Linked DNA regions of Homo sapiens: all the other regions are linked to region 1. Evidence: promoter capture Hi-C in 16 types of primary human blood cells and fetal thymus (Javierre and others, 2016). All regions are on one chromosome and are shown on one strand. The core of a region is centred on a gene start or on the middle of the fragment in contact, and the rest is flanking DNA. Distances in the headings are between cores, read along the strand shown.

What was found. The method cuts DNA at HindIII sites, captures the fragments that hold promoters and counts their contacts. A CHiCAGO score of 5 or more calls a contact.
Region 2: a fragment that was not itself captured here is called in contact with the fragment with the promoter of TRAPPC8 in region 1 in 1 of 17 cell types (neutrophils); the score reaches 6.5 in neutrophils.
Region 3: a contact is called between a fragment that was not itself captured here and the fragment with the promoter of TRAPPC8 in region 1, in 13 of 17 cell types (neutrophils, naive CD8 T cells, non-activated CD4 T cells and 10 more). The highest score is 18.8, in neutrophils.
Region 4: a fragment that was not itself captured here is called in contact with the fragment with the promoter of TRAPPC8 in region 1 in 1 of 17 cell types (total CD4 T cells); the score reaches 5.6 in total CD4 T cells.
Region 5: a fragment that was not itself captured here is called in contact with the fragment with the promoter of TRAPPC8 in region 1 in 16 of 17 cell types (neutrophils, total CD8 T cells, naive CD8 T cells and 13 more); the score reaches 24.1 in neutrophils.
Region 6: a fragment that was not itself captured here is called in contact with the fragment with the promoter of TRAPPC8 in region 1 in 1 of 17 cell types (non-activated CD4 T cells); the score reaches 5.1 in non-activated CD4 T cells.

What each region holds. Positions count from the first base shown.
Region 1 is chr18:31,940,445-31,945,435 of GRCh38, forward strand. It overlaps TRAPPC8 (trafficking protein particle complex subunit 8), which reads right to left and starts at 2,684. Exons shown (of 29, transcript NM_014939.5): 1 at 2,164-2,684. The coding sequence starts at 2,320. RefSeq lists enhancers at 1,579-2,357, 2,459-2,668 and a silencer at 2,289-2,408. The HindIII fragment of the contact is 12,839 bases long and covers 1,391-4,991 here.
Region 2 is chr18:32,166,338-32,171,328 of GRCh38, forward strand. No RefSeq gene overlaps it. Among named protein-coding and RNA genes, the nearest start is that of MEP1B, 21 kb to the right of the region's middle. The HindIII fragment of the contact is 6,002 bases long and covers 1-4,890 here.
Region 3 is chr18:32,133,313-32,138,303 of GRCh38, forward strand. No RefSeq gene overlaps it. Among named protein-coding and RNA genes, the nearest start is that of RNF138, 44 kb to the left of the region's middle. RefSeq lists silencers at 1,500-1,700, 3,910-4,110. The HindIII fragment of the contact is 3,779 bases long and covers 28-3,806 here.
Region 4 is chr18:31,760,261-31,765,251 of GRCh38, forward strand. It overlaps SLC25A52 (solute carrier family 25 member 52), which reads right to left and starts at 620. Exons shown (of 1, transcript NM_001034172.4): 1 at 1-620. The coding sequence starts at 401. The HindIII fragment of the contact is 1,431 bases long and covers 1,681-3,111 here.
Region 5 is chr18:32,110,831-32,115,821 of GRCh38, forward strand. It overlaps RNF138 (ring finger protein 138), which reads left to right. Exons shown (of 8, transcript NM_016271.5): 3 at 924-1,089; 4 at 2,915-3,030. Among named protein-coding and RNA genes, the nearest start is that of RNF138, 21 kb to the left of the region's middle. The HindIII fragment of the contact is 5,185 bases long and covers 498-4,991 here.
Region 6 is chr18:31,791,166-31,796,156 of GRCh38, forward strand. No RefSeq gene overlaps it. Among named protein-coding and RNA genes, the nearest start is that of SLC25A52, 33 kb to the left of the region's middle. RefSeq lists an enhancer at 1,406-1,465. The HindIII fragment of the contact is 1,707 bases long and covers 2,165-3,871 here.

The sequences.
Region 1 (4,991 bases), core at 1,434-3,933:
AACAGGGCAAGACTCCATCTCCAAAAAACAAAAAACAAAAAAACTAATTTCACTTGTTTCTTTTTACTTTTTTAATGTGGCTACTAAAATTTTTTGTTGTTGTTGTTTGTTTGGTTGGTTTTGAGATGGAGTCTCACTGTGCCTCCCGGGTTCAAGTGATTCTCCTGCCTCAGCTTCTCGAGTAGCTGGGACTACAGGCGCCCACCACCACGCCCAGCTAATTTTTGTATTTTTAGTAGAAACGGGGTTTCACCATGTTGGCCAGGATGGTCTCGAACTCCTGACCTCGTGATCCACCCGCCTCGGCCTCCCAAAGAGCTGGGATTACAAGCGTGAGCCACCGCGCCCGGCCGAAAATTTTTTAATTATACCTGTGACTCACATTATATTTCAATTAGACAGCACTGCTCTATGGTGTAAATACATAATTCTAAATACTGTCAGGAGATAAGATGATTAAGAACACAATGTCTTGAGTCACACTGCCTGTTTCAAATCTTTCCCAGACGCAAAACTGTGAACAAATTAACACTTCTATGCTTCAAGGTCCTCAAATTTAAAATTGCAATAACAGGATTCAATGAGGACTAAAAAAGAAAAGTTACACAAAGCAAGTATCAGGTATTAGCATTATTATTATTTATTAAGAAAGAAGGAAAGAGTACACATATAAAAGTAAAACTAGCTCAAGTGTTTGTGTTTTTTTAGGAATTCAAGGCCGGGCGCGGTGGCTCACGCCCATAATCCCCGCACTTTGCGAGGCCGAGGCGGGCAGATCACCTGAGGTCGGGAGTTCGAGACCAACCTGACCAACATGGAGAAACCCTGTCTCTACTAAAAATACAAAAATTATCCGAGTATGGTGGCGCATGCCTGTAATCTCAGTTACTCAGAAGGCTGAGGCAGGAGAATCGCTTGAACCTGGGAGGCGGAGGTGGCGGTGGGCTGAGATCGCGCCACTGCACTCCAGTCTGGGCAACAAGAGCGAAACTCCATCTCAAAATAAATAAATAAATAAATAACAAAAAAATAAAAAACGTAGGGCATTTTGTTGCTCTTAAGTCCAACACTGAAGGAACTGAGACTGATGGCTACGATACAGGCTAAAGAAAATCCAAAAGTTTCCAAACTTTGTTTTTTTGGACAGCTCCCTCTCTCCGCTAAAAACAAAAGCTAATTTATAATGGAACTATTCTCCCAAAAAACATGGTAGCGCAAAAATGGTACAGCACTGATTTTTTTTGTGGATAAGTCATATTAAGCTAACAAACATCACAGTCGTTTGCCTGACACAGGCTTATTATGAAACCCTTCAGTTCTTACCGACCTTAACAAAAAAAACTTTACTTGGACTTTGTTGTTTGCAAGATATTGGCTAAAACATGCTTGAAGCTTTACCACATTATTTTCTCCTAATAAAAAAATCCAAAACTGGAGAAAACGGGTAGCTTCTTAACAAGACATTCATTAACAAGAGAAGACATTTCCATCCCTATAACTATAGATAACTCCAAATATCCAGGTTAAATTAACCACAACTTGGGCTTGCTTCCTCTTCCTTAGGGCAAAAAGCTGCTTCAAGTTTTATTCTTCTTATAATACTTTTAATTTTCTTGAGAGGTTAAGCAAAATACCGTATAGCTAAGAATATATTAGTAAAACAGCTACACGGTAGTTCAGACAGAGATGACCCTCAACGCTACAAGAATGTAATAACATCCACAACTACTTTCAAAGTCCAGTTTAACATCCAAGGGAGGATGACAGGTCTTCCTTACTCAGACCCTGTCGGTCTAAGAGGCAGCATTTTCCTACCTTAGCTGCTTTGCAAGTGCCTAATTCCTTCGCTATGGCCGTGGAGAACAGTCTCAATGCCGTTCTCGAAGACTCACGTTTATCTTTGCACCAATTACTTAACGACCTAGGTTGTCCGAGGAAGAAAGGAAGTGCCCAGAGAAACTGGAGCTTAGGACTGCGCTGTCTTGACAACCTCACGGTCCCTCCTCCAGCCGCCCCCGGAGCACCGCGGGGCCACAGCCCCAGACGCCACGGTACCGGCTCCAGGACGTAAACACTGCCCTTCTCTTCCCTGCCCGCCCGCAACTTCCTTCTCCCGACCACGGCTTTGCGGGAGCCCACTGGAAAAGGGAGGATACCACATACCCTCGGAAGTGAGGCGGGAGAAGGGCTTAAGCAGCTCCGCGAAGCTGAGGTGATTGAGACGAGTGAGCCGCTCGGCTTCGTCGCTGCACAGCGCAGCGACACAGGGGACGAAGGAGTCCGGGATTAGCTCCTGCACTGATTGTACACACTGGGCCATCGCCGCAGCACAGGCAGCGGCGGCGCCCGCCCTCCGGCCCACCCTGCGAGGTTATCCTGCGGCTGCAGCAGCTACCGCCGCCGCCCGCCGGCCTGGCCCGGCCGGGCGGGGCCCCGAACGCACTGGAGCCTAGAAACAAGAAGGAACAGACGCCGCCGCTTCGGTTTCTGGGGCACAATCCACTGACCCCCCCCTTCCCGTCACCGCCGCTTCTCAGCGCTCGTCCCCGCGTGCTCGCATTCCACCCCGATAGGTGGAGACGCCGACAGTCACCACTTAGTCCTTCGGACGGCAAAACCTTGGTCACTGCCCGGCCGGAACCGCCATGTTGAGGCCGAACCCTGACCAACCGGCAGTACTACTCCCAGCTGCCCCCGCGCGCGTCCCTCACGTGACTGTGTTAAAGGAGACGGTAGGGGCAAGGGAAGAGAGCTGAGGAGAGGGAAGTGAAAAACGACGGAGGCCGGTTGGGAGGCTGGAGCCGGAAGTGTTGTGACGGAAGCTCCCTGGGCGGGGCGGGGCTACAAGTGCGGTGGGCGGGGGCGGGGGCGGGGGCGGGGGCGGGGGGAGGTGCACAACTGTAGGCCGGGTTCTCAAGCTCGCCCTTAGCAGAGCAGAGCTGAGAGCCACCTACTAGCGGCAGGTGGAGCCTCGAGACGGGTGCTGTCGTGGTGATGGAGGCGCACGCTCGCTTCCCACGCAGTTTGGCCTTTTTGACGTCCCTGGCTGTTGTGGGCAACCGATTTGGTTGGTCGCGCTGCTTCCTACGCTCGCCGGCGGAGCAGCTAGTGGCACCTGCTCGGAGAGAGGGAGTGGATCTCTCGGAAGTGCTTGGGGTTTCGCTGAAGCGGACCTGAACAGACCATGTGTCCTTTAAATACAGCCATGCTTTTAGAAACGGACTGTCACTTTATGTGGACTCAACCATTGAACAGAATGTGTGCTTTTGTGAGTGCTGCAATTCCTTCAAGTGTAATTGCGCTACTGCATTTTTGTTGGTCGCAGGGAAGGGGTGTGCCTGCAAATGTCCGCGTGGTTCGTCCTCAGCCTCTTCCTTTTTACACTGTGCTAGGATGTTTACTTGCTTGTGGTGGAGGTAGGGGAAGCCAGTATTTGTGTACTGTGTACTGTCCTGAACCGGCTTTCATTCCTAACTTTTCAAAGATTGCTTTAAAGGGGGGGGGGCGCGGGTCAAATATTGTTTTAAAGGGGGGGACGGGGTGAGGTCAATGGTGTGTGCCTTGTAAGTAGAAATGAATGAAAGGAATTTTACTAATGTGTCACTCAATTGTTTGAGCTCCTTCTGTTTTGCATGCCAAAAATATAAGGCAAGGAAAAATGTATCATTCTATCATGATTTTATGGTGCTCTAATTAAAGGTGTCTTCCCCAACGTCAATGTCTCAAATTTTTCGACTTCTTGACACCCTCAGGTTTTCACTAAGGTAATAATTTATGACAAGTAAGATGTGTGCTTCTCATGTAAGTTGATAAATGGGAGGTAGGAAGGCACAGTAGGACATATTGATGACATGCCTTGGCTACAGATTAATTTATAAGAGAGTCCATCACTTTAGGAGATTTATTTGCCGAAGTTAAGTACGAGCCCAGGAAACAGGTCTATGCCTTTCTTCGAAGATGATTTTGAGTGCTCCAAATTTAAAGGGGAAAGGGCGGGATATTGAGAAGCACACCGTTTTCATGTAAGGGGGCGGTAGGAGAAAATAGTAATTCTTGCCTTTCTCTGGCTCAGTGAATCTGCATTTTTTACATAAGATGACATAAAATGGGCAGAGGAAGAATGTGGGAGTCTGCATTTTTCATAAGATAACAGACAAAATGGGGTAGGGGAACAATCAGATAGGCATTTGTGTCTGGCGGGCTGGGGTGGCCACCTGTAAAGATAAGCTATCAATTTGCATTGCCATGAAGTTTTAACAGCACACTAAGAATTTCCTTGTGGGCAAAATACGGGGGAGAGATGTAGCTTTTCATCTTGCAGCAATCTTATTTAGGAACCAAAAGGGGGAGGCAGATTTGCGTGACCAGTCCCAGCGTGACTTTTCCCTTTGGCTAAATCAGTTTGGGGTCCCAAAATTTAATTTCCTTTTGCAAGAGATAACATGTTACACACAATCCCTTTTCAATGCTTCTGATTCACTTCCTTACCCTTTATAATGTGAGAATCTCACATAATTTAGTGTGACTCAAGTTATAAGATACATTTTTTATAACAGGACTCCCAAATGCAAACATACTATTTATCTAGTACTCTAAAAAGTTTCAAAGGCCATTTATTTTTATGCTGAAAGTAAAAACAGCTGAATTAGACTCTTTGAAAAGGACTTTCAATGGTAATTTAGCCAAAATAGATTTTTCTGAGATATAATTCACATGCCATAATATTTACCCCTTCAGATGAGTGTACAATTCATTGGTTTTCAGTTTATTCCAAAAGTTGTGCAACCATTACTACTATCTAATTCCAGAACATGTTCATCCCAAAAAGAAGGCTTGTACAGGCTTTTATCATTCTGCACCCTGCCATGCCCTCCAACTCCTGGCAATCACTAATCTACTTTCTGTCTGTGTAGATTTACCTATTCTGGACATTTCATATAAGTGAAATTATACAATATGTGGCCTTTGTACACATATTACTTCACTCATCA
Region 2 (4,991 bases), core at 640-3,139, 230 kb after region 1:
GTGTCTCACATGCTTAGAAGGCAGAATTGAAGGAACCACCATCTTGTTTTACACTTAGAAGACTAGTGCAGCTCAGTGCATTGTTGCTACCTGTTGGCTCGCCTGATTGGCACAGGGCAGTGGCTGGACCCTTGACCACTCCTCTAGCTCTAGCTGGATCTTCCTTTAGTTTTTCAGACTGTTAGGTGAGAGATGTGTTTAGCTCCATGGTGAAGGAGGCCAGCTTCTCCCTCAATACGCCTCCTCCCACCCTCCATATCACCAAAATTGGAGGCTTAGAGACGGTGAGAGAGCCATAAGAAGTCCAGTCAATCCTCTTGGTTTACAGCTCAGCTGTGTAGGTTCCATCTTGCTTCCCTTACTTCATTACCATCTTCCTTTTTTTTTTTGGAGATGGAGTCTAGCTCTGTCGCCCAGGCTGGAGTGCAGTGGCGCGATCTCGGCTCACTGCAGGCTCCACCTCCCGGGTTCACGCCATTCTCCTGCCTCAGCCTCCCGAGTAGCTGGGATTACAGGCACCCGCCACTATGCCTGGCTAGTTTTTTGTATTTTTAGTAGTGACGGGGTTTCACCATGTTAGCTGGGATGGTCTCGATCTCCTGACCTCGTGATCCACCCGTCTTGGCCTCCCAAAGTGTTGGGATTACAGGCGTGAGCCACCGCGCCCAGCCCATCTTCCTTTCTTGACTACCTGCCCTATTGATTTCAGGCACTAGTGCCTGACACAGAAGCAATAGCCTCCATATAGACTGTTTAACCAGCCCCCACATTTGCATGTAGGCAAATCCCTACAATAAGTCCTTATAATAAGCCATTACACATGTTTATGTTTGTGGTATGCGGATAAATGTTTAACAACCAGCTTTCTGGAAAAAGAAAAAAAAAACCCTAATTTGTAGCATTTGCCAATTTTCCTGGTATAAATATTCTTACCATGGCCAATTTCAAGCCACCAATGTGACATCACTGAATGGGGAGAAGAGAGAAGATGCTGATAGCTCTCTCAGGCCAGTACTAGCCAGCTCCAGCCCACCACTGTGAATACCTCTTAATGGTCTTGTTTCTCTGGTCAAATCCTAATAAACCTATTTTTTCCCCCACATCTCTTAGCACCTTCTCCCATGCTCTATATTTTAGTTATCTGTGTCCTACTTTGAAATGTAAATTCTATCAAGGCAGGGATTTTTGCCTGTTTTGCTGTATCCTTGGCTCTCAGAAAAGATTTTTTTTTGCCCTTTTATGTAATCATAAAATTAAGTTTATCAAGTAAATTTGATCTCAAAAAATGAGTATGTAGAGTAGCTCCTTTATGGTAGCCTCTATATATATTAAAATTGTTTATTATATTTATTTATTTTTTGAGACAGACTCTCATTCTCTCACCCAGGCTGGAGTGCAAATAGTGCCATCTCAGGTCACTGCAACTCCCACCTCCTCAGTTCAAGCAATTCTCATGCCTCGGCCTCCCAAGTAGCTGGGATTACAGGTGTGTGCCACTGGCTAATTTTGTATTTTTAGTAGAGATGGGATTTCACCATGTTGGCCAGGCTGGTTTTGAACTCCTGGCCTCAAGTGATCCACCCATGTCAGCCTCCCAAAGTGTTGGGATTACAGGCATGAGCCACTGTGCTCAGCCAGAATTTTTTTTTAATACCAAGGTAGCTATTTTAACTCTGCTTCCCTAGTTTCTTGTATGGAAAGAAGCCTTTTCTGTACATTTCTATCTTATCAGAACAGATCTTGGCACTTAATAGCCATTCCACATATATTTACTGAGTGAATGAATGTAGTGTGGGAAGATGTGGCAAGGGTCTGGCAGAGGAAGAACCTGAGTAAGAATTCTTGGAGCTTTGTCAAGGCATGACCTGGTTTGGTTTAGTTCAGCAAATATTTGTTGAGTACCTACCATATGTCAGGTATCTTGCTAGCTACTGAGATCATAAAAAGAATATGGCATGTTTGCCAATCTGGCTGAATTCAGCAAGGTTCGAGAAAAAGGGAGAGAGGTTTCAGGGTAAATAGGACATAAAGAGTTTCTAAAATGAAGAAATATTCAATAGAGCCAAATTCAGCATAATGGATGATTAAGAAAGAGATTGAGAAGTATCTTCTTTACAGAGCAATTGGAAAAGTTACAGCAGATTTTCTCCGAGATGCTACTTCCTCTGATGTTTTATTCTCAAATACTTTGGCCATGTTCTGTTGTAGCCATCTTGATGTAATTAATTTTCCAACAGCCATCCCTTTTGGCCTTTTGGCAGTGGGATCTTGATTTTTTGCAGTGGTTTTTGTTTTTGAGACAGAATCTCACTCTGTCACCCAGGCTAGAGTGCAGTGCTATGATCTCGGCTCACTGCAACCTCTGCCTCCAGGGTTCAAGCAATTCTCCTGCCTCAGCCCCCAGAGTAGCTGGGATTACAGATGTGCGCCACCACACCCAGCTAATTTTTATATTTTTAGTGGAGATGGGGTTTCACCATGTTGGCCAGGCTAATCTTGAACTCCTGACCTCAAGTGATGCACCATGCCTTGGCCTCCCAAATTGCTGGGATTACAGATGTGTGTCCCGCACCCAGCCTGGCAGTGGGATCTTAAAGGACAGGGCTGTTAAAAACTTGTACCCTTGGCCTGGGCAAGGACTTCATGTCTAAAACACCAAAAGCAATGGCAACAAAAGACAAAATTGACAAATGGGATCTAATTAAACTAAAGAGCTTCTGCACAGCAAAAGAAACTACCATCAGAGTGAACAGGCAACCCACAGAATGGGAGAAAATTTTTGCAATCTACTCATCTGACAAAAGGCTAATATCCAGAATCTACAAAGAACTCAAACAAATTTACAAGAAAAAAACAAACAACCCCATCAACAAATGGGTGAAGGGTATGAAGAAACACTTCTCAAAAGACGACATTTATGCATCCAACAGACACATGAAAAAATGCTCATCATCACTGGCCATCAGAGAAATGCAAATCAAAACCACAGTGAGATACAATCTCACACCTGTTGGAATGGCAATCATTAAAAAGTCAGGAAACAACAGGTGCTGGAGAGGATGTGGAGAAAAAGGAACACTTTTACTTTTACACTGTTGGTGGGACTGTAAACTAGTTCAACCATTGTGGAAGACAGTGTGGCGATTCCTCAGGGATCTAGAACTAGAAATACCATTTGACCCAGCCATCCCATTACAGGGTATATACCCAAAAGATTATAAATCATGCTGCTATAAAGACACATGCACACGTATGTTTATTGCGGCACTATTCACAATAGCAAAGACCTGGAACCAACCCAAATGTCCATCAATGATAGACTGGATTCAGAAAATGTGGCACATATACACCATGGAATACTATGCAGCCATAAAAAAGGATGAGTTCATGTCCTTTGTAGGGACACGGATGAAGCTGGAAACCATCATTCTCAGCAAACTATCGCAAGGACAAAAAACCAAATATCACATGTTCTCACTCATAGGTGGGAATTGAACAATGAGAACACTTGGACACAGGAAGGGGGACATCACACACCGGGGCCTGTTATGGGGTGGGGGGAGGGGGGAGGGATAGCATTAGGAGATATACCTAATGCTAAATGACGAGTTAATGGGTGCAGCACACCAACATGGCACATGTATACATATGTAACAAACCTGCACGTTGTGCACATGTACCCTAGAACTTAAAGTATAATAATAAAACAAAACAAAACAAAACAAAAAAAACAAAAAAACTTGTACCCTTGGTGCCCAGGTCAGTGCTCGGCACTTGAAGACACACAGCACCATGTTTGATCAACAATTAAATTACAAAGAGATTTAAAACATTTTAGACATCCCAGCCATTTGTTTCAGGCTTTTCTTAGTTTGTCCCATTGTTTTTCATGGAAACTTATCAGAAATTGAAATATTATAATACCAACTGTATCCTTCAGTTCTCCAAAATTCTGATTTTAGAACCAGAAATAAATGTTAAGTCACAGTTTATAATGAGACAAGTCAGATTTTGGATTAAGGGAAGGTTGATTTGAGGCCCAAATAAATCTTTAGTTGGGAAATGCCACTGCATAATTGATAACTAGCCTGGATTTCTTTTATTTATTTATGTTCTTAGAAGGTTGTGTTTTACAGGATCATTAATCCTGAAAGGTCCTTTTTTTTTTCCCCCTCTCAGAAAGAAACATTTAATAGGGACTTACGAATAGAAGTCATGTCTCAGGTAGACCTGAGGCTAATCCTGAACTTTGATTACTATGCCCACCATTCACTAAATTATGCTCTTCTGGTCTAAGAAAAATGTCATCTGACTGGAGATTCCTCCTCTGACCACATCGTATAAAATAGCTCCCCTCCTCAGCCTTGCTACCTCCTTTGCTTGAGTTCTATTTCTTCACCGCACTTATGACTCCCTGAAATTGTGTTCCGTGGTAATTGGTAATTGTCTTCTCTCCCACGGGAATGTAAGCTCCACGAGGGCAGGGGCTTTATCTGTTTAGTTTACTGCCTCATCCCCAGGATTGAGAACAACACTGGCATAAAACAGGTAAAGGAAATAAGTTAAATGGATGATTATGAGCTTTCTAGAGCAATAAGTTGATTTGTTCTTTTTATTAGGCATATTATCCTTTTAGAATCAGTTTCCAAAAACTGGTAAAGACAAGAACATGAGTGCTGAGTATGAGGCCTGCTTAGTGCATGACACTAGCCCATTCCCCAAGTTAGCCCCTTTCTCCTTTTCGTAAAGTTAAATAGATGGGTCTTGGCTGTGCCCCAACCCTTCCCTGCCCCACTCCTCCCCACTCTCCCCAGGCCTCCCTCTCATCTTCTCCTCTCCCCTGTCTCCACTGGCTCCTGCTTTGCTGCCAGCATGCCAAGGCTAGGTCTAAGCTTTGTTAGAACCTGCTGCTCCCTTAGTTACCACCCTACCTTTCTCCTTTCTCTCACTCCCCAAATCCTAAATCGTGAGGATAGTGCTGACAACACTCT
Region 3 (4,991 bases), core at 667-3,166, 190 kb after region 1:
TGACTTGTCCTTTGTCCAGAACAGAAAAGCTTAGTCTTCTAAAGTTATATTTTAGTATTTGTAAAAGTTGTGTTAAATGTATTACAAGTGATTCTTTTATGTATGCTGGTACCTGGGGATGCCAAATGTAGGTAAAAACAAAACAGGCTGGTCTTCCCCTCATAACTGAGGAAGGAAGTGAAGAGTCTAGCCAAATGGCCTTCCGCTGCTCTTACCTGACTTTCCATGAGCTGTGTATGGGATGTTCTATCTTTTTTTTTGGGACAGTGTCTCACTCTTACCCAGGCTAGAGTGCAGTGGTGCAATCTCTGCTTACTGCAACCTCCATCTCCCAGGTTCAAACGATTCTCCTGCCTCGGCCTCCTGAGTAGCTAGGATTACAGGCGTGCGCCTCCATGCTCAGCTAATTTTTATACTTTTAGTAGAGATGGGTTTCACCACGTTGTCCAGGCTGGTCTCAAACTCCTGGCCCTAAGTGATCCGCCCACCTCAGCCTTCCACAGTGCTGGGATTACAGGTGTGCGCCACCGCGCAGGGCCTGGATGCTCTTTTATCTTTTGGGGGGATGGAGTCTCGCCCTGTCACCCAGGCTGGAGTGCGGCGGCCTGACTTCGGCTCACTTCAACCCCTCCCAGGTTCAAGCGATTCTCCTGCCTCAGCCTCCCGAGTAGCTGGGATTACAGGCATGCGCCACCACACCCAGCTAATTTTTATATTTTAGTAGAGACAGGGTTTCGCCATCTTGGCCAGGCTGGTCTCAAACTCCTGACCTCAGGTGATCCGCCCACCTCAGACTCCCAAAGTACTGAGATTACAGGCGTGAGCCACCGTGCCCTACCTCGGCCTGGATGTTTTCTTTTCAAGGCATTTTTGTAGGTACAGAATTTTATTTTTCTATTTTATTTTTTTGTTAGGCTCCCTCAAATCATGGGAAATAGGAGATTTTAATGAGTATTTAAGGACAATATTTTCTGGGATAGGATCTGAAGCCACCAATAGAAACAAAAGCGGTTGCAGCAGATACAGAAGGGTGTTGGGTAGATCTTTGCCAGAAGACCAAGCATTTAAAACAACTGAGCCTACTTTCTTGGACCAGACAACCTGTTTTTGATGATTCTGCTGGTTGCTACTTGTGTAGTTTGGACACATTTCGTAGCCCTTTTTACCTCTATGGTTTGTGAGGATTGAATTAGTTAATATTACAAAGAGCTTGGAACAGAGCATGTTAACGTTTATTGTTACTGTGTATCCAATACAAGTCAACCTATTGTATTTATATCTGTCAGGTCCTACTTTAGTCTAAAATCCTGTCAAGACAGTCTGGATTTTTTTTCCCCCTTAAGGATATAGAGTCTAAAGGGTTACTAGTCTTTATTTGCTGGCCTCAACTGTTTGTATTTTTTGTAGAGAGAGGATTTCGCCATGTTGCCCAGGTGGGTCTCAAACTCCTGAGTTCAAGTGATCCTCCTGCTTTGGCCTCAAGGCCTCGATCCCTTGAACCTAAACTCCTTGTCTCAAGGGATCTTCAGCCTCATGAGTAGCTGAGACTGCAGGTGTGCGTCATACCTGGCTTGCTAGCCTCAACTTTTGTGGGAAGATCTGAGACACTGTTTTTGTTTCCAAGAAGTACAAATACCCCACACATGAGGAATTCTGAATAAAACATATCTTAAAATAATTGCGCCGTTGTACTCCAGCCTGGGCAACAAGAGCAAGACTCCTCAAAAAAAAAAAAAAAAAAAAAAAAAAAAAAAAAAGAAAAAATAATAAAGAACAATCAGCTGATGATCATACTTCTCAGTCGAATGTATACCTAGGATGTATGATGAGAAATTTACTTAACCCACCCATTTTTAAACATGTTTGGTTCTTTAATAATTAGAATGAAACTATTGTCTCTAGGAAAAAAATTATTTTGCAACATTAGCAAATCACTTGACTAGCTTACATATGATTATCTAGGTTATTTGGTAGTATCAAAGGGTGTAAAATAGTTTTTCTGAGCTTTTTGAAAATTTTATGAGTAATGGTTGAGAATACTACTCTATACCAACTGTTTCTGTTTCCAGATAGAATTGATATATCACAACAGCATTTTCTGTGTTTATGAAGTAATTTTAGGTTTACTTAGACTCACACTTTTCAAACTTCTTGCCTCAGGAGCCCTTTACCCTTAGAAATTATTGAGAACCCAAAAGCAGTTTTGTTTTTGTGAATATAGTCATGCGCCACATAACGACATTTTGGTCGTTGATGGGCCACATATGCAATGGTGGTCCCTTAAGATTATAATACTGTATTTTCACTGTACCTTCTCTATGTTTAGATATGTTTTCTATGTTTAGATATGTTTAGATAAACTGTGTTATAGTTCCTTACAGTATTCAGTATAGTAACATGCCATACAGTTCTGTAGCCTAGGAGCAATAGGCCACACCATATAACCCAGGTATGTAGTAGGCTTATATCATCTAGGTTTGTGTAAATATACTCTGTGATGTTCACACAATGAGGAAATCACCTAATGGTACGTTTCTCAGAACATATTCCTGTCATCAAGCAATGCATGACTGTATTTATCACATGTTTGTCACATAGGAAACTGATAAAGTGGACCAGGCCCAGTGGCTAATGGCTGTAATCTCGGCACTTTAGGAGGCAAGGTAAGAGTATCCCTTGAGGCCAGGGGTTCAAGAGCAGCCTGGGCAACACAATGAGACCCTGTCTCTTGAAAAAAAAAAAAAAAAAGGGGGAATTGACAAAGTGAAAACATTAACATTTAAAATAATAAGCTCATTACATTATCATTAACATTTGTAATGGAAAATAACTTGCAAAAATATTCAGCAGATCTCTCAAATATCTAGGTTAATGGAAGACAGCTAGATTGTTCATATTGTTCATATATGCATCAGCATTCAACCTATTGTGGGTTATTTTGCTTAAAGGATATGAAGATAATCTAGTCTCATACAGATAATGTTGTTGGAAAAGGGAGGAATATTTTAATAGCCTTTTAAAAAAGATAACTGAGTTCCAGTAAGGTGGCTCATACCTGTAATCTCAGCACTTTGGGAGGCCGAGGCGAGCGGATGGCTTGAGCTCAGGACTTTGAGACCAGTCTGGGCAATGTGATAAAACCCTGTCTCTACAAAAAAAAAATACAAAAATTAAATGAGTGTGGTGGCATGTGCCTGTAGTCCCCGCTACCCACAGCAGCTGAAGTGGCAGGTTCTCTTGAGCCCAGGGAGGTTGAGGTTGAGATTGCAGTGAGCCATGATTGTGCCACTACACTCCAGCCTGGGTGACAGAGCAAAACTCAGTTTCAAAAAAAAAAAAAAAAAAAAGTTGGCTGGGTATTCTTACATACTGCATCAAAACAAAAACAACAAATAGTAACTTTTTTTTTTTTTTTTTTGAGATGTAGTTTCGCTCTTGTTGCCCAGGCTGGAGTGCAATGGCACAATCTCAGCTCATTGCAACCTCCGCCTCAACCTCCACCTCCCAGGTTCAAGCAATTCTCCTGCCTCAGCCTCCCGAACAAATAGTAAATTCTTAAAAGTTAGTTGTAATCCGAACCACATCAAACTTTTTGTACACTTAACAGGAAAATCCATAGATCTATCCTGTATTTGAATGGACCTTTTACCTGCACATGATTGCATAGCATTATGTGATGGTCAGTCCAAAAGATGGTGCACTGAGTTATGGAGATCTATCAAATATTTACTCACTTTTTGTACTGTAGCAATTATATTAATATCACCATGGATCTCATCAAGTCTTTAAAAATTGGGAAGCCAGGAAGCTTACAAAACTCCGATTTTTGCTTAAAACCTCAAATTTTATCTTTGACAAAAAATGGTTGTTACCTTGAAGTGACATGCTGATTTTCTCCCTCCAAATACCCACATATAAATATTTTGCCAGTCACTCTTTTAAGTAAAAGTGGCCATGCCATGAAAAAAAAAAAGTTGGTTGAGGTCATAACTCAATATAATTTGCACAAATATATTTCCTTGAGACAACCATTGTACCTCCTTATGCAGGAAATGTACTTTATGTGTCTTCCCCCTTTTGTTATCCAGAATATTAAAAAAGGCTTCTACTTAAGAGTCAAAATTTTTTTAGTTTTTTTTTTTTTTTTTTTTTTTTTTTAAGACAGCATCTTACTCTGTCACCCAGGGTGGAGTGCGGTGGCATGATCTCAGCTCACTGCAACCTCCACCTCCTGGGTTCAAGTGATTCTCGTGCCTCAGCCTCTGGAATAGCTGGGATTACAGGCACAAATCACATGGTTATAAGTATTTTTTTTCTATTTTAGCCATTCAAATAGATATATAATGACATTTCATTGTGGTTTAATTTTTTATTCAGTAATAGCTAATGGTATTTGACATCTTTTAGTGTGTTACTGGCCATCTCTCTTTAGTGAAATGTCCTTTTATATCTTCTTATCATTTGCCCATTTTCTAACTGGATTATTTGTTTTTCTACTGCATATTTTCTCCCCATCTGTATCTGTTGTTTCCTTATTCTTATAGGGACATAAGGGATATAAAAGATGTCAAATGCCATGATCTATTACAGAATAAAAATTTAAACCACAAATGAAATGTCATTATATACCTATTTGAATGTTTAAAATAGAAAAAATGTTCATAATACTAAATGCTGGCAAGGATGCGGAGAAACTGGGTCTCTCATATACTGGATCTCTCATCTTACAGGGAAGAAGGAAATAACAGATACACATGGGGAGAAAATATATAAGTTTTTGATAAATTAAAAACTTTAAGAGAACAAAGTTTTTAATATTCATGAAATCCAATTAATTGATTTTAACTTTTATGGATTATACTTTTGGTATCATACCTAAAAATTCTTTACCTAGTCCTATGTCCTGCAGATTTTTTTCTGTTTTCTTCTAAAATTCTTTATAATTTTATGCTTTACATTTAAATCTACTCCATTTAGAGTTGATGTTTATA
Region 4 (4,991 bases), core at 1,146-3,645, 180 kb before region 1:
ATTGCTTCTGCTGTCCCTGCAAGCACTGCCGCCACGCCATGGGTTGCAAACTCTGGAGCACGGACATGCTTCCGGAGAAGGCAGGATAAATCCTCATACAGACCAAACATAAGTGCAAGCGTAGTTGTCTTCTGCATCAATGGGGGAAGGATTCCACGATACAAATTTCGAAATCCATCCCTTCTCAACTGAAGTACTGCATCCCGGGTTTTGATGCCATACAGCTGTTGCCGAAAGAGGACCTTCTGAATGGGATATGTGATTGCGACGTTGTTGAAGGCTGCACAGCAGCCACACAAGTAATGCTTCATTTCACCAACATTTGTAATATGAGGTGATATATCTTGTTTTGAAGATGTAAGTATTGGTGGCCTCTTTTCATGAGCTTCTGAATCTATCATGTTGCTTAAGATCTTTCTCATGAAGGGCATTTTTTAACCTGTGACATCATCTGAGCCTGGAGTTTGGCAGGATGATAGCTTTGTGATAATGTTCCCAATTTCTTCCATTGTTATTGTTCTGTTAGGTTCTCTCTTCCCGAGTCCATTTTGATAACTGGATTTCCGTTCTCCAGGCGTCCATTTCCCCAACCCATCGCCGCCGGCGCCCCGCAGGACTGCGAGCAAGCCGGGACCTGCGCAGGCGCAGACCATGACCGACCCCGGGGCGGGGGCGCAGCGTGACGCTCTGGGCGCCGCTGGGATCCGAGAAGAAACCCTTTTAAAGCAAGCATGGCAATTTCTTCTAAATAAGCTGGATAAAATTAAAAACTCATTCATCCAAAGATCCTAAAAAATCAACAAATTCCTAAATATTAAATGGTATAGACACAAGTGTTTCTTAAATCACATAACCTTCTCCACGGACACTGTGAAGATGTGTTGCCAGTGGCTTCCCTAAGAGACTGTGAAACTTTTTAAATAGTGTATACATACAAGAAAAGTGGATTTTAGTGTAATCTTGCAGAAGAACAAAACAAACATGGTATCTAAGAGTACAAAGGCACAAAAGTTGAAATTTCATAGTCACTCAGGCCTTGGAGTACTGTATTTTCTTGAAAGGGAAAAAAGTAGGCCAGGTGCAGTGGTTCACACCTGTAATCCCAGCACCTTGGGAGGCCAAAACGGGAGGATCGCTTGAGGCTAGGAATTTGAGACCAGCCTGGGCAACATAGCAAGACCCCTGTCTCTACCCAAAAAAAGAAAAAAGAAAAGAAAGAAAAAAGTAGGTGGTAAGGAGAAGTAAGGAGAAGATGAATTTTTTTTTTAAAAAAAGTTCTGTATACCACATGAAATTTTACTGGGAGGAAAGTGTCTGAGGTTTTAAGAGGCATAAATTAAATAACCTTGAAACCCATTTTGCTCTAGGACTACCCATGTGTTTTCTAGAGTAACCAATGTGTATATTCCATGTATGTGAATGAGAGATGAAAGGAAACAAAAATAACTTCCCTTCCAGGAACAGTGGAAGGCTTCAGCCAACAAAGTAGGTCACAGCATCAGACTACATTGCCTGCTGATGTGTACTGCCTAGTTTTTGAATAGAATCAAATGACAGCTTCCTTGAGATTAAATGACAGTTTCCCTGACCATCATCTTAAAGCACGCCTATGGTGGATCGCTCTAGAATGAACCATAAACCCGAAGTTCTCTTTAAGCTTTAGTGAAACGAAATAGTAAAAGCTTTTCACGGAAAGAGAAGGGAGTCTCCAACATTTATACTGATTGATTTTGGCAGCAATGACTTTCATTAGAAATGTAATTGCTGGGTATGCAAAAATTAGCACTGTTGGGGCTAGAGAGATCTTTGTTTTCCTTTCTTTTGTTTTGTTTTGCTTTTTTGCCTAATATTGATAGTGTTTTCTCGGTTTTGCCATAGCCCTTCTGTCAAGATGCTGGCAATCAGTATATCATGAAAAACAGACTGCCCTTTCTCGCATTTATTGAAGAGAGATTCTCATGATCCTATGGTAAGATAACAATTGCTTTTTTTCAATCCATCCTCCACACTGCAGCCAAAGCAGTCATCTTAGTAACAAACGTGAGCACGTTTTCCCTCACTTAAATCTTTAAATGATTTTACACCTGAAGGACAAAGGTCCCCCATGGTCTGACGTTTTCCTACCCTTGGCGCCATCTGCCTTCACATTTCTAAAGGCACCTTCCGTCCCCGCCATATCAAACTACTCGGGGTCTCCAGAATGAAGAATAATGTGCCATCTGACACTCCTTTGTCTTTATTCGGTTATTGCCTCTGCCTGAAATGTCCTTACTTCTAGTTCCTACTCAGCTTCTGGAAGCCTTCGCTAACTCCTTAGTCCAAATGAGGACCCCTTCTCCACAACACACCCTATACACACTGTGAGTGTGGCACGTGTCACACTGTACAATGTCCACGATTCACAATGCTGAGGGCTTCTTGAAGACACAGTCCACTTCTCATTGAACTTTATTCCAGTTTGTGTCCCCAGTGTCCAGGCATCTGGTTAGGTCTCCAACTGCTTAAGAGTGTAAAGAGTGTTGATGAGTTCTGTATTACTCATGGGTCTTGGTTATAAGAGCCAAAAATACCATTCCAACTGAAGCAAGCAAATCTAGGGGGTAAGGAAAGGAGAAGGAAGAAGGAAGATGAGAAGGAGGTAAGAAATCAGGAAAGGATTTAAAAAGGTGGCATCTGGGCAACATTTAAGGCAATTTTCCAGCTTCTCTCATTTGCACCAGTAGGAGTGGGCCATGTGGCCACAGAGGAGAACATTTCCGAATACCCTTCTGGATCCTGCTGATTTTGGGGGGTACTTACCTCCTTCTGTCCTCAGCACCCAAGTGCCAGATGAGGCAAGTGAATTCCTTTGCAAGAGAGGAAAGAAAGGCAGTTTCAGTGAGAAAATAACAATAAAAAGTGAAGTGGGGGGAGAAATGTATTAGTTCGTGTAATGAAAAAGTTGAGAAATCCAGAAGTAGCAATCACTTTAGGCATTGCTGGATCCTAGAGGTTCAACCACCATCACAAGTACTTAACATCCCTCTCCACGTATATATTGCCCAGCTATACATTCCTCAGTTTTAACTTCATTTTCAGTCAGCTCTTTCTACAGAGTAACATCCTACCTGAAGCTTATTCTGCTAATTTAGCAACTGAAGGATGAAGTGCTTCACTTTCCCAACAGTTCCTGCAAAACAACCCTAGGATTGAGTCTCATTGCAGTTAGTTGGTCTGAACCAATCACTGGGATCAGGGGGATGGAAAATGATACTAATCAAACCTGAGTCACTTGCCTCATCCTGCACTTGTCAGGTAAATGGGGCAGAAGGAGGTAAACCTCCCATCCCGCCCACCACCCAAACCACTGGGACCTAGAAAGGTATTAGGAGGTGTTCCCCTCTGAAGCCACACAGCCCACTGCCATTGGTGCAGATGAGAGGAGCTGGAAAATTGCTTTGGAAGTTGAGCCATTGCCACCTTTTTTTGGTCCAAGCTTGCAGTTTCTTGGGCAATGTAACTATACAGTTTGAAATCAGGCAACTCAGGCAGGCGCGGTGGCTCACACCTGTAATCCCAGCACTTTAGGTGGCTGGGGTGGGGGATCACCTGAGGTCAGGAGTTCAAGACCAGCCTGGCCAACATGGTGAAACCCTGTCTCTACTGAAAATACAAAATTAGACGGGTATGGTGGTGCACACCTGTAATCCCAGCAACTTGGGAGGCTGAAGCAAGAGATTCACTTGAACCCAGGAGGCGGACGTTGCAGTGAGCTGAGATCACACCATTGCACTCCAGCCTGGGCAACAAGAGCGAAACTCCATCTCAAAAAAGAGAAAAAAAAAAAATTAGGCAACTCTACTGACCGATGGCCCAAGTCAAATATGTTTGGTCACAGTCCTAGATTCCAGACCCTTTATTGCGGGATTTTTGTCTCAGCACAGGCCCTAATGCTCTGCTATCCCACCTAGTCCTCAACCTAGTGTTGTCCATGCTGGCTGCCCCAGGGCAGAACCAGCACCCTCAAAGCACAGATAACTTGGCCCTTGCCCCTTGGTTATGTCTGATGGGTGACTCTTTACAATGGAGACCATTGTCACCCTTCTCAGGCTGCTAAATGTCTGCAAGATGTTTGGGAGAAGCCTAAAAGAACAGGAATGAAGCTTCTCTCTGACTCCTATCTTATCTTCTGATATGTTTTCCACACCCTAGGCTTTGTGAGAAGTAATATTAGTTGATGACAGAGAACCCCACTTTTCAATTCAGCGAAGCTCAGAGACGTCTAATCTAACTTTCTATTATTTTATTTATTTAATTTTTTTGAGACAGAGTTTCATTCTGTTGCTCAGGCTAGAATGCAGTGGCACCATCTTGGCTCACTGCAACCTCCACCTCCCAGGTTCAAGCGATTCTCCTGCCTCAGCCTCCCAAGTAGCTGGGACTACAGGCACATGCCAAGACACTTGGCTAATTTCTGTGTTTTTAGTAGAGATGGGGTTTCACCATGCTGGCCACACTGACCTGGCCTCAGGTAATCCCCCAGCCTCAGCCTCCCAAAGTGCTGGGATTACAGGTTTGAGGCACCACGCCCAGCCAGGGACATCTAAGTTTCTAAGTTGATGGCTGTAGGAAGAAAGGGCCTCCTGTAGCAAAGCTGTCTTTTCTTCCCTTGCTGCTTTCAGATTGCCCATTTCTAACAAAACTTGTTTTTCTGGTAGGACCTAACCGAAGGCTACAAAATAAATTCATCTTATTCCATCAGCCTGACATTTTTCTACCATCTCTCTTTAACTTTCAACTTCAGTAGGCTCATGGTCAGAGCACCAAGAGAAAATAGAATAGTTTCACCACTGCCTTGCTATTACTGCACAACAAAATTGCCAGCTTCCTGCCCAAAATCGAGAGGTCCTCACTGCCCCTATCCCATCTTGACTGAGCCACGTCTCTATTTGACAATCTGCAACATGTACTCTCTCACCTCCAGATACGAATTTAGAAAGTGTTCAGAGTCT
Region 5 (4,991 bases), core at 1,840-4,339, 170 kb after region 1:
AGTGCAGTGGTGCAATCTCGGCTCACTGCAACCTCTGTCTCCTGGGTTCATGCCATTCTCCTGCCTCAGCCTCCCGGGTAGCTGAAACTACAGGCGCCTGTCACCACGCCCGGCTAATTTTTTATATTTTTAGTAGAGACGAGATTTCACCGTGGTAGCCAGAATGGTCTTGATCTCCTGACCACGTGATCCGCCTGCTTCAGCGTCCCAAAGTGCTGGGATTACAGGCGTGAGCCACCGTGCCCGGCAAAGCCGGAAGTATTCTTAAGTATTTCTCAAATTATGTTCCATTGCATACTGTTTGGGAAATTTCCCTACTTCCGGACCAAATAACCAAATATCTGTTAACACGCAGATAACTTTGGGTAACACCTAACTTTGGGTAAAACCTATTAACTTTATCCTAGAACTTCCCAAACCAATTTGTGTGCTCTTTTGTAGTAGACCTGTTTATGTCTTGTGGAACAACATGTCGATATACATCAGTTTGAGACAAAAGCTTATGTTACTCATCCTTTTATTTTGTAAGGGGAGGAAATGGAGATCCAGTGTGCGTTAATTTGTTGGCCTAAGATTACACAGCTACTAAATGGCAGAGCCAGGATCCGGTTTTTCCTTTGTACCATGCTTCCTCTAGTAATATTATTAATATGTAGCATTAATATTTATTCATCATATATTATGTTAAGAAGTTGTAAAGCAGACTTGAGTGTAATTGTTCAAATATTCCCATCTAGTCCAGTTATCAGTCTTACTCTCTGATAAATACATATACAGTTACTAAACTTCTGAGATTTATGTACATATGAGTAGCCTAACTTATTTAATATGAATACATATTTATAATCACTTGTTTGTATTTAATTATAGAGATGAAGAGAGTAATTTTTTTTGTAATTAATGTGTCACAATGTTTGGTTTAGTTTCTGTAGAAAATGTTTCCTGACTGCAATGAGGGAAAGCGGAGCACATTGTCCCCTATGTCGTGGAAATGTGACTAGAAGAGAGAGAGCATGTCCTGAACGGGCCTTAGACCTTGAAAATATAATGAGGAAGTTTTCTGGTAGCTGCAGATGCTGTGCAAAACAGGTAGAGTAAATGTGACATCTCTCTTCTTTGGAAGCCAAGTTTCTACTCTGAAATTCTTATTTGAATTTTCTTGGTTGGTGTTTTTTTTTTTTTTGAAAAGATGAAAGGTATTTAGACTGGGAATTGGATAGAAAAGGCCAAAAAAAGCTGTGGTCATAGATCTTACTAGATTATAAACTTACTGAGAAATGAGACTGAAAAAAAAATCACTGAATTTCATAATACTTAGCGTGGCATTTTTCTAAAAGTAATTTCTCATTGATTACTTGCTAAAGTAACTAAATTAGCAAGCTGGCATTTAGCTCATTTAAACCCCATTCTGGTACAAATTCACCCCTTAAGTTTTTCTCATGGTAGCATCATTATTGCAGCTTTACACATAGAAATGTTACTAGTTTGGGCACATGGATTTATGTAGTTTAAGGAACTCTCTAGCTCCTCACTTTACTTATGTATTTATGTATGTATTTAAGAAATCACAAGGGCCGGGCATGGTGGCTCATGCCTGTAATCCCAGCACTTATGGGAGGCCAAGGTGGGTGGATGACCTGAGGTCAGGAGTTCGAGACCAGCCTGACCAACATGGTGAAACCCCGTCTCTACTAAAAATAAAAAATCAGCCAGGTGTGGTGGCGCATGCCTATAATCCCAGCTACTTGGGAGGCTGAGGCAGAATTGTTTGAACCTGGGCGGCAGAGGTTGCGGTGAGCTGAGATTGCGCCATTGCACTCCAAACTGGGCAACAAGAGCGAAACGCTGTCTAAAAAAAAAGAAGAAGAAAGAAATCACAAAATATTTGGTTAATTTTAAGGAACATGTAGGAAAATCAGGTGTTAACAAATAACCAGCATTAATTCTCTAATCTGGATTTTATTCTATCATTTGGAGAAGGAATAAAATAGAGAGGGGTGGTTAGGCTTTGAGTATATCCATGTGTCTATAGATTTATCACCGACATTTTTTCTAATAGCTAATGAATTCAGTGAGCAAAGCTGGTTGCTATTTCATGCATTCACACAAGTCAGATCTGCTTTTACATCTTTTTGAAGGAAGTGTTTAACTGACAGGGCAATGACGTGAAGCTGGAAAACACACTCGAGAGATTCTGGCTATTCCTCTCAGTGAGAAACTGAAAAATGTTCCAAGTATTCCTGGCAACTTAATTTTTTTTGAGACAGGGTCTCACTTTGTCACCCAGGCTGGAGTACAGTGGCACAATCTCGGCTCACTGCAGCTTTGACTTCCCAGGCTCTAAGCAATCCTCCTGCCTCAGCCCCACAGGTAGCTGAGATTACACCTGGCTAATTTTTGTATTTTTTGTATAAACAGGATTTTGCCATATTGCTCAGGCTGGTCTTGAACCCCTGAACTCAAGCAGTCCACCCATCCCAGCCTCCCAAAAGGCTGGGATTACAAGCGCGAGCCACTGCACCCAGCCAGGAACTTAATTTTTTTTTAAGTGCTTTCTAACTCTGCCAGGCTGCAGAAGTTAAATAATAAGACATGCCCAATAGCATCTGGCATCCTCTTAGTGCTTTTAATTTTTTTGTCTACTGCTGGTAGTGTCTTTTCAAGTGTGAAGTTATTTGCTGTTTTTTGCAGTGAATTTATAGACAGATGGACTCTTCTCCATCTCTACATTTAATGAACAGAAATGTATTATCTATTCTTAACTCCTACTTAAGGATGAAATCATTTACTTTAAAAAAATACAACTCCTGTTTAAATGGAGTATTTAGTTACTTTTATTTTTTCCTCTCTTTACACTATTTCAAATCTTACGAGTTCTATTTTAAATTAAAAGTCACATTTTAATAATTTACAGATTAAATTCTATCGCATGAGACATCATTACAAATCTTGTAAGAAGTATCAGGATGAATATGGTGTTTCTTCTATCATTCCAAACTTTCAGATCTCTCAAGATTCAGTAGGGAACAGGTAAGCAATACTTATTCCTAAATACAGAATTTTCATAATTGAAATGGAAATTGTTTTGGGAACTATATGATAAGGTATTTGGGGGGATGTGTGTGTGTGTATGTGCACATGTGTTTTTAAAGTGAATTGCCAAGTATCAGAACTACAGCATTTGCCTTAAAATCTGTTTGGCACACGTAAGCTCTCATCTGGGAGATGACTTCATGAACTTCAGCTTATGTTATTTAAAATCATTCTAAGAATTTTCATTTTTTTGAGTAAAAAATAAGTTGGAGATTTTTCTCTTACTGATTTTGCAACTGAAATGATTTGAAAAACTATAGAAAATCCTTTTCAGTAATGTATTTGCAAACTACAACCTGTTTTTTCTTTGCTATCTAAGGGATAGACTTAGAGTTTGAAATTTTTATTCTAAAATGTCATGTAAAAATGAAACCAGGTGCAGTGCAGTTCTGTTTGAGTCTCATTTCTTTTAAACAACTAGATTTGGATTGATTTGTATCTTATCTCAGATTCATGTACATTAAACATTTTTATGAAATGTATTTTACACAGAAAAATGGCCAAAATGCACTTGTGGTTTAAAAAAATAATGATTAACATCCAGTTACCTATTAACCCAGGTCAAGAAAGAACATTTTTCAAAACTTCAGGATCTCTATGTGAGCTCCTGCCCATTTGAACCGTACACTCCTAGATGCAACCACTATTCTCTTATTTGGATTATTCATTCCTTTGATTTTCTTTATGTATCATCACCCATGCATGTATCCCTAAACAATGCATTGTTAATTTTGAAAACTTCAGTAGTAAGCACATACGTAACTGTAAGGAAAGACAATATTGCCACTATTATAGAAAGGTTCCCAGGAGACAGTATGTTAAGCAGTCTCTAATATTTTATTTTAGTAGCCTTTCATTTTACATATTGCTAATTTTTAGTAACTTAACCGCCCTTAAGCACTTCATGTTGATCATACTACATTAGGCGTCTTCCCTACTCAGTTGAAATTTCTGGTAAAAACCTTTAGTGATTGTCTGGTAAAGATCTGCAGTAATTTTCTGATTGCCTAGTCTGAAAAAACTTCAGGTTCTCATTTTACTTGACTTGTTAGTGTCAAGGAAATTTGTTTGAAAGTTGTTGCTCTTATAGTTTTTTTTTAGTCCTTCTGGGTTTCTTCATTTCTATGTTTTTCTTATTGTTGTACTTCTACTTTATTGTAATTTCCTATCTGCTTTTTTACCCAATAGATTGTTCTTAAGTGAGGGGATGGTGTTTGTCTTGTTGAGCATATCTCCAGCTTTTAGTAAAGTTCTTAGTATACATGATTGTAATCACGCTTTTAATGACCAAATTTTCTTATCAGGAGACAGGCCTTCCTCCCCCTTATTTCTTAGATCCACTTGGTCATAGACACTTGATTCCTAATAGCAATATTCCTCATCTGTACTTTTATTTTATCTTGTCACTTCCCTAGCTCAGGCCCTCATCATCTCTCACTCGAACTATGATAATAGCCTTTTTAGCTGGTAGTTATCCTCTAATCTGTTTTACATTCTATCGCCAAAGTAATATTAATGAAGTATAAAAGACAAAATTCTGGCTGGGCGCGGTGGCTCACACCTGTAATCCCAGCATTTTGGGAGGCCAAGGTGGGCAGATCACTTGAGGTCAGGAGTTCAAGACCAGCCTGGCCATCATGGTGAAACCTTGTCTCTACTAAAAATACAAAAATTAGCTGGACGTGGTGGCGCGTGCCTATAGTCCCAGCTACTTGGGAGGCTTAGGCAGGAGAATCACTTGACCCTAGGAAACGGAGGTTGCAGTGAGCCGAGAGCACATCACTGCACTCTAGCCTGGGCGACAGAGTCAGACTCCGTCTAAAACACACACACACGCACACACACGCACGCACGCACACACACACTTCCTTATTCCAAAGCCCTTTCTGATCTGGCCC
Region 6 (4,991 bases), core at 1,768-4,267, 150 kb before region 1:
GCCTAATGTCACAACCTGCCTTAGACCCAAAGGATAGTTGCATATAAAGCCTTCCCTTTCTATTCCTCCTGATTTGGTGCCATCCTTCGTGGTGCTGTGCCTGGGTTGCTACAGGAGTATATAGAAACCGCACACCACCACTGTTCTATCCTTTCACCCCCACGACTAGTGTCCTTGTAAGAGGAGGAAGCCCCAGGGGTGCACACTCACAGACGAAAGACCATGTGAGGACACAGTGCGAAAGCAGCCACCTGCGAAGCAAGGAGAAAGGCCTCAGGAGAATCTAACTGGGCCTGAGCTTTGATCTTGGACTTGCAGCCTTCATCACTGAGAGAAAATAAGCTTCTTTGAAGCCATCCAGTCTGCAGTATTTTGTAATGGCAGCCCTAGGAGACTAACACAGAGGGCATGGCCCAGGATCTCACCTTCGTCTTTGCAGGACTAAAATCTAATTTTGTTTGTTTACATGATAGATAATCATTCCAGAACTGACTCATATTTACCAAACTCATAAAAATTTGCTGTGTAGACCAGAAGAATAATTTGATTAACATAGCAAAATAAAGCCTCCAGGAGAACTGGAGCGCACTCCGTCGATGCCAGTGCATTCTCTCCCTGTTGGCAAATATTTGGGAAGCTAAATTATTATCTGAAGGTCACTTGGTGAGCATGGTTTTAAAAGAAAGAGAAGTGGAGAGTATTGAAAGACATTGCTGTAACTCAATGCTGCCAGTGACATGGGCCTGTGACCACAAAATAGGTTTACATCCTCTTTGCTTATTCAACTTATTATGACTCTAACACCCACTGGTCCACTTCCTTCAAAGCGCCTTGCCAGTTATTTGTGGGAGTTTCTCTAGGTCTTGCCTCAAGGGAACTATGCCACAGATCCCTGTTGCTTCTTAACCCTCAACACTGACCATCTTTGTAAAATAGCCACCTGGTGGGGACAGCTGTCCCTCATGATGCCCACTCTAATGCTTCCACTCTGCCCTCAGTGTGGGGACCCTGTTGCCACTAATTCCCCGGAGGACAGTTCAGACCAGACAGTGGCTTTTATTAATTTTTAGTAAAGTAGGAAGACAGAAAATGATGTGGAAACTATCTTATAACTGCTACTGACCATAACCTCAAGAGTTCCTGGAGAGCTTGCAATAGACCTCCTCATAATAAGAGTAGGCCTGACTCCCCAGGCACCTCTAGGCATCCCCACAAATTAAGTTCAGACCCAATTGCACCCGAGGGGATGTCCTCTCCCACTCCGTCCTACCTCAGGATGACTGGCAGTAGAAACAGGTATTCCCCGCAGGGGAGGAACCCTCACACTCACCATGTGATGTGGCTTCACGGCTCAGACACTGCAATAGCAAAAGCCAACACTACCCTCAGTCTTAAAACCTCCCTTTTCTTGACACTTCCACCTTCTAAAGATGCCAAGTATATGGATGTGACTGTGAAATGTGCCCAGATAAATTTTAAGGAGATACAATATTGACTCCTGAGTGTTAAACCAATAAATTACAACATAACAGATGTGATTCACCCTGTTCAAAGGTTACTTTAGAGGTTATACTTTCTCCCAGGCCATAAACAGGAATAACACATAAGGGCAACTGATGCTTGATTGGACACAAAAGGAGACTAGCTTTATCACTGCTATGGACACATCGGAGACAGAATAGGTGAGCAGAGGATGTTGTCTATGTGACGGTAATAGATGGGTATTGGATAATGAGAAGCCATTCATCAGAGCCCAGGAAGAAGAAACCCAGAGCCTGGGAAGAAGAAACACTGAATCTGAGAAACTCAGTCACCAGAGAGTACTTTTCTGGGAAGCTGTGGTTTATGGAAAAGAAGGAATGCAGGTTGGAAAAGCAAAAAGAGAGCAGAGGACAGCTGCTTCCTAATTCCACAGGTAGCTCCCACCTGGGCTATCTCTAGTGTATGGCTCTTGAGACTTCATATTTATTTAGATTCTGCTTTACAGTTTACAAAGGGCTTCATATGTCTCTTATATGCTGAGGAAAGATAGTGGTGTTATATTGCTGAGGGAAACTGAGGCAAGATTTTAGTACTAGTAGAACTATAGAACTGATCTAGCACCCAGATCTTCAGCTTCCAATTCAAAGACATTTCCCCTCTAGGATTGCTGATCCAAACCAGAAGCTTGTCTCCGCAGCTTTGTCTGCCCTTTCTTGTCAAGCCTCCTCATGCCATTGCACTTTCCTACTTGCCTTGAACACCTTCCCTTTATATTCCTCCTGATTTGGTGCCATCCTATGCCTGGGTTGTTACAGAGAGTATATAGAAACAGCACAAGGCCATTGTTCTATCCTTTCACCCTTTGAGATGCAAGCACTATTTATCTTGGAATTTTTCATTTGGGTAATAACTAGACAAAGAATTACAGTACCTACTCCTTTCCTCCTTCAGCAAGGAGTCCTCAGGCAAGGTAACACTACTGGGGCCAGGTTCTCAGAAGAGAAGACTGTGAGAAGGAGGAGGAGGAAGAGGAGGAGGAGGAAGAGAGGAGGAGGAAGAGGAGGAAGAGAGGAGGAGGAAGTGGAGGAGGAGGAAGAGGAGGAGGAGGAAGAGGAGGAAGAGGAGGAGGAGGAGGAGGAATAACAGCCATTTATCATTCTTTGTATTGTTAGCTGGTGAAGCAAAATGGATACACTTTGTCTCTACAAACACACATTACAGCCAATGAGACATAAAAAAGGTGAAAATGGGCTACATTTTAAAAACATTATTTGCCTTGCATATTTTTATGAGTCTCCTTGACCCTGAAACTGAGGAAAAAATAACCTTCAAAGCAGAGAAGGGAGGTAGTGAAAGCAAACCAAACCAGAATACGAGATGAACATCATTGACATCAGAAACCATCTGCTGGTCTTTGTTGTTAAGAAAAACCCGTTAGCCTGGTTTAATGGGGACAGATCAGACAGCATGAGGTGGATTGTGCTGAAAGAAAACATGCAACTATCCCCCTATCCTTTGGGTATAAGGCAGGTTCTGACATTAGGCTAAAAAGACTGGCATTTAATGGCCCTGCATTTGCATAATGACCTTCCTTCTGTAGCTTGTGATATCTCAGCTAATTGCTTTAGAACACTTCTGCTACATCTGGGGTTTTTTTGTTTTTGTTTTTGTTGTTTGAGACCAGCTTTTCACTTGTTTCCCAGGCTGGAGTGCAATGGCGTGATCTCGGCTCACTGCAGCCTCCGCCTCCTGGGTTCAAGAGATTCTCCTGCCTCAGCCTCCCGGGTAGCTGGGACTACAGGTGCCCACCACCACATCCAGCTAATTTTTATTTTTTATTTTTGGGGGTTTTTTTTGTTTGTTTGTTTTTGAGATGGAGTCTCACTCTGTTGCCCAGGCTAGAGTGCAGTGGCATGATCTTGGCTCACTGCAACCTCCAGCTCCCGGATTCAAGCATTTCTCCTGCCTCGGTCTCCCAAGTAGCCAGGAGTACAGGTGCGTGCCACCACGCCTGGCTAATTTTTTGTATTTTAGTAGAGATGGGATTTCACCATGTTGGCCAGGATGGTCTCCATCTCCTGTCCTTGTGATCCACCCACCTCAGCCTCCCAAAATGCTGGGATTACAGGCGTGAGCCACCACGCCTCGTCCATCTGTTAGGTTTTACTACTTTCTAATCCATTCAAAATCCTCACTACCGGCCAAGTCCCAAGCCACTTAAAATTTTTGGAACATGAGGTTGTATGAACCAGAATTCATATGATTCACCTGGTGAGATATATGTGATGTGCTATCAGAAAGAAGGTAATGCCCAGAGAGAACACAAAGTCATAAAAAAAAAATCCTGATTTCTATGTCCTCTTATGTCACAGGGATGAGCTTTGAACAAAGCTTTGTTCCTTCCCATTGAGCTAGAGGAATCTTCCTGTGGATAGAATCTGTGATTCTATGAGTCAGGCAGTTCTCAAACTCCTCTGTGTAACCTGTAACTGAAGAATAAGGAGGTTCATAAATTTGGAAAGGAGAGCTTAATTTCTCAGCAAGACTTGCAGCCTGTATGGTGGCAATTCTGACAGGCTGGGAAGCACAGCCTTCAGTCAGAAGCCAGAAACAGACACTTTGAGGGAGGGGGAAGGGGAACAGGAATTTATGCAAGCAGGGTGGACAATTAGCCATAGATAAATATATCTTAGTTCTTCAGGTAATTCTGATATGAATACCCCCCACATTTAAAAAGCTGTAGGAGGAGTCATGAATATTTATGAGAGGAGAAACGTGCATGTGCAGCTGAGCTTCATGCCCCTTCATGGGTCCCAAAAAATGTCGGCATTGGCACGATCCGATCTTGGCCCTCTAACATCAAAAAGTAAAGTAGAGGACACAAAAACCCTCACTATGCATCCTCTGTGGACTGGCCAGAACCAATCTGTGGTAGGTGGTCTATCATTAGGAAGGAAGCCTGATTGGTTGTGGTGTCAACACTGCAAAAGGGAAGGGCAGCATCTGGCTGTTGGCTGATATCTGCAGTGGTGTCTTTCAGAAAGGCTGGTTTCTGGCCAGTCAAGGTGGCTCACACCTGTAATTTGAGCACTTGGAGAGGCTGAGCAAGAAGGATGGCTCGGGCCTAGGAGTTTGAGACTAGCCTGGGCAACATGGCAAGACCCTGTCTTGTATTTTTTAAAAACTTTAAATAAATACATAAAAATTTAAACATTTTTTAAAAATTAAAAACCAAAAAGGCTAGTTTCTGTTTAGCCATCAGGGAAGAAAGCCCTAATGACGTCAGCAAGGAAGGAGGTATAATGAGGGATGTTCAATCTCTCATCTCATCATGGCTAGGAACTCAGCTTCCAAGCTTTCTCTGGGGTCCCCTTGGGCAAGTGGGGGATCCATTCAGTTGGTGAGTGGGCCTAGAATTTTGTTTCTATTTCTGAAACCTGAGAGTGGTCCCAGACTTTTGGGAGAGAGGGTCCTGGTACCCACCATAATAAAATTCAAATTCTGAACTA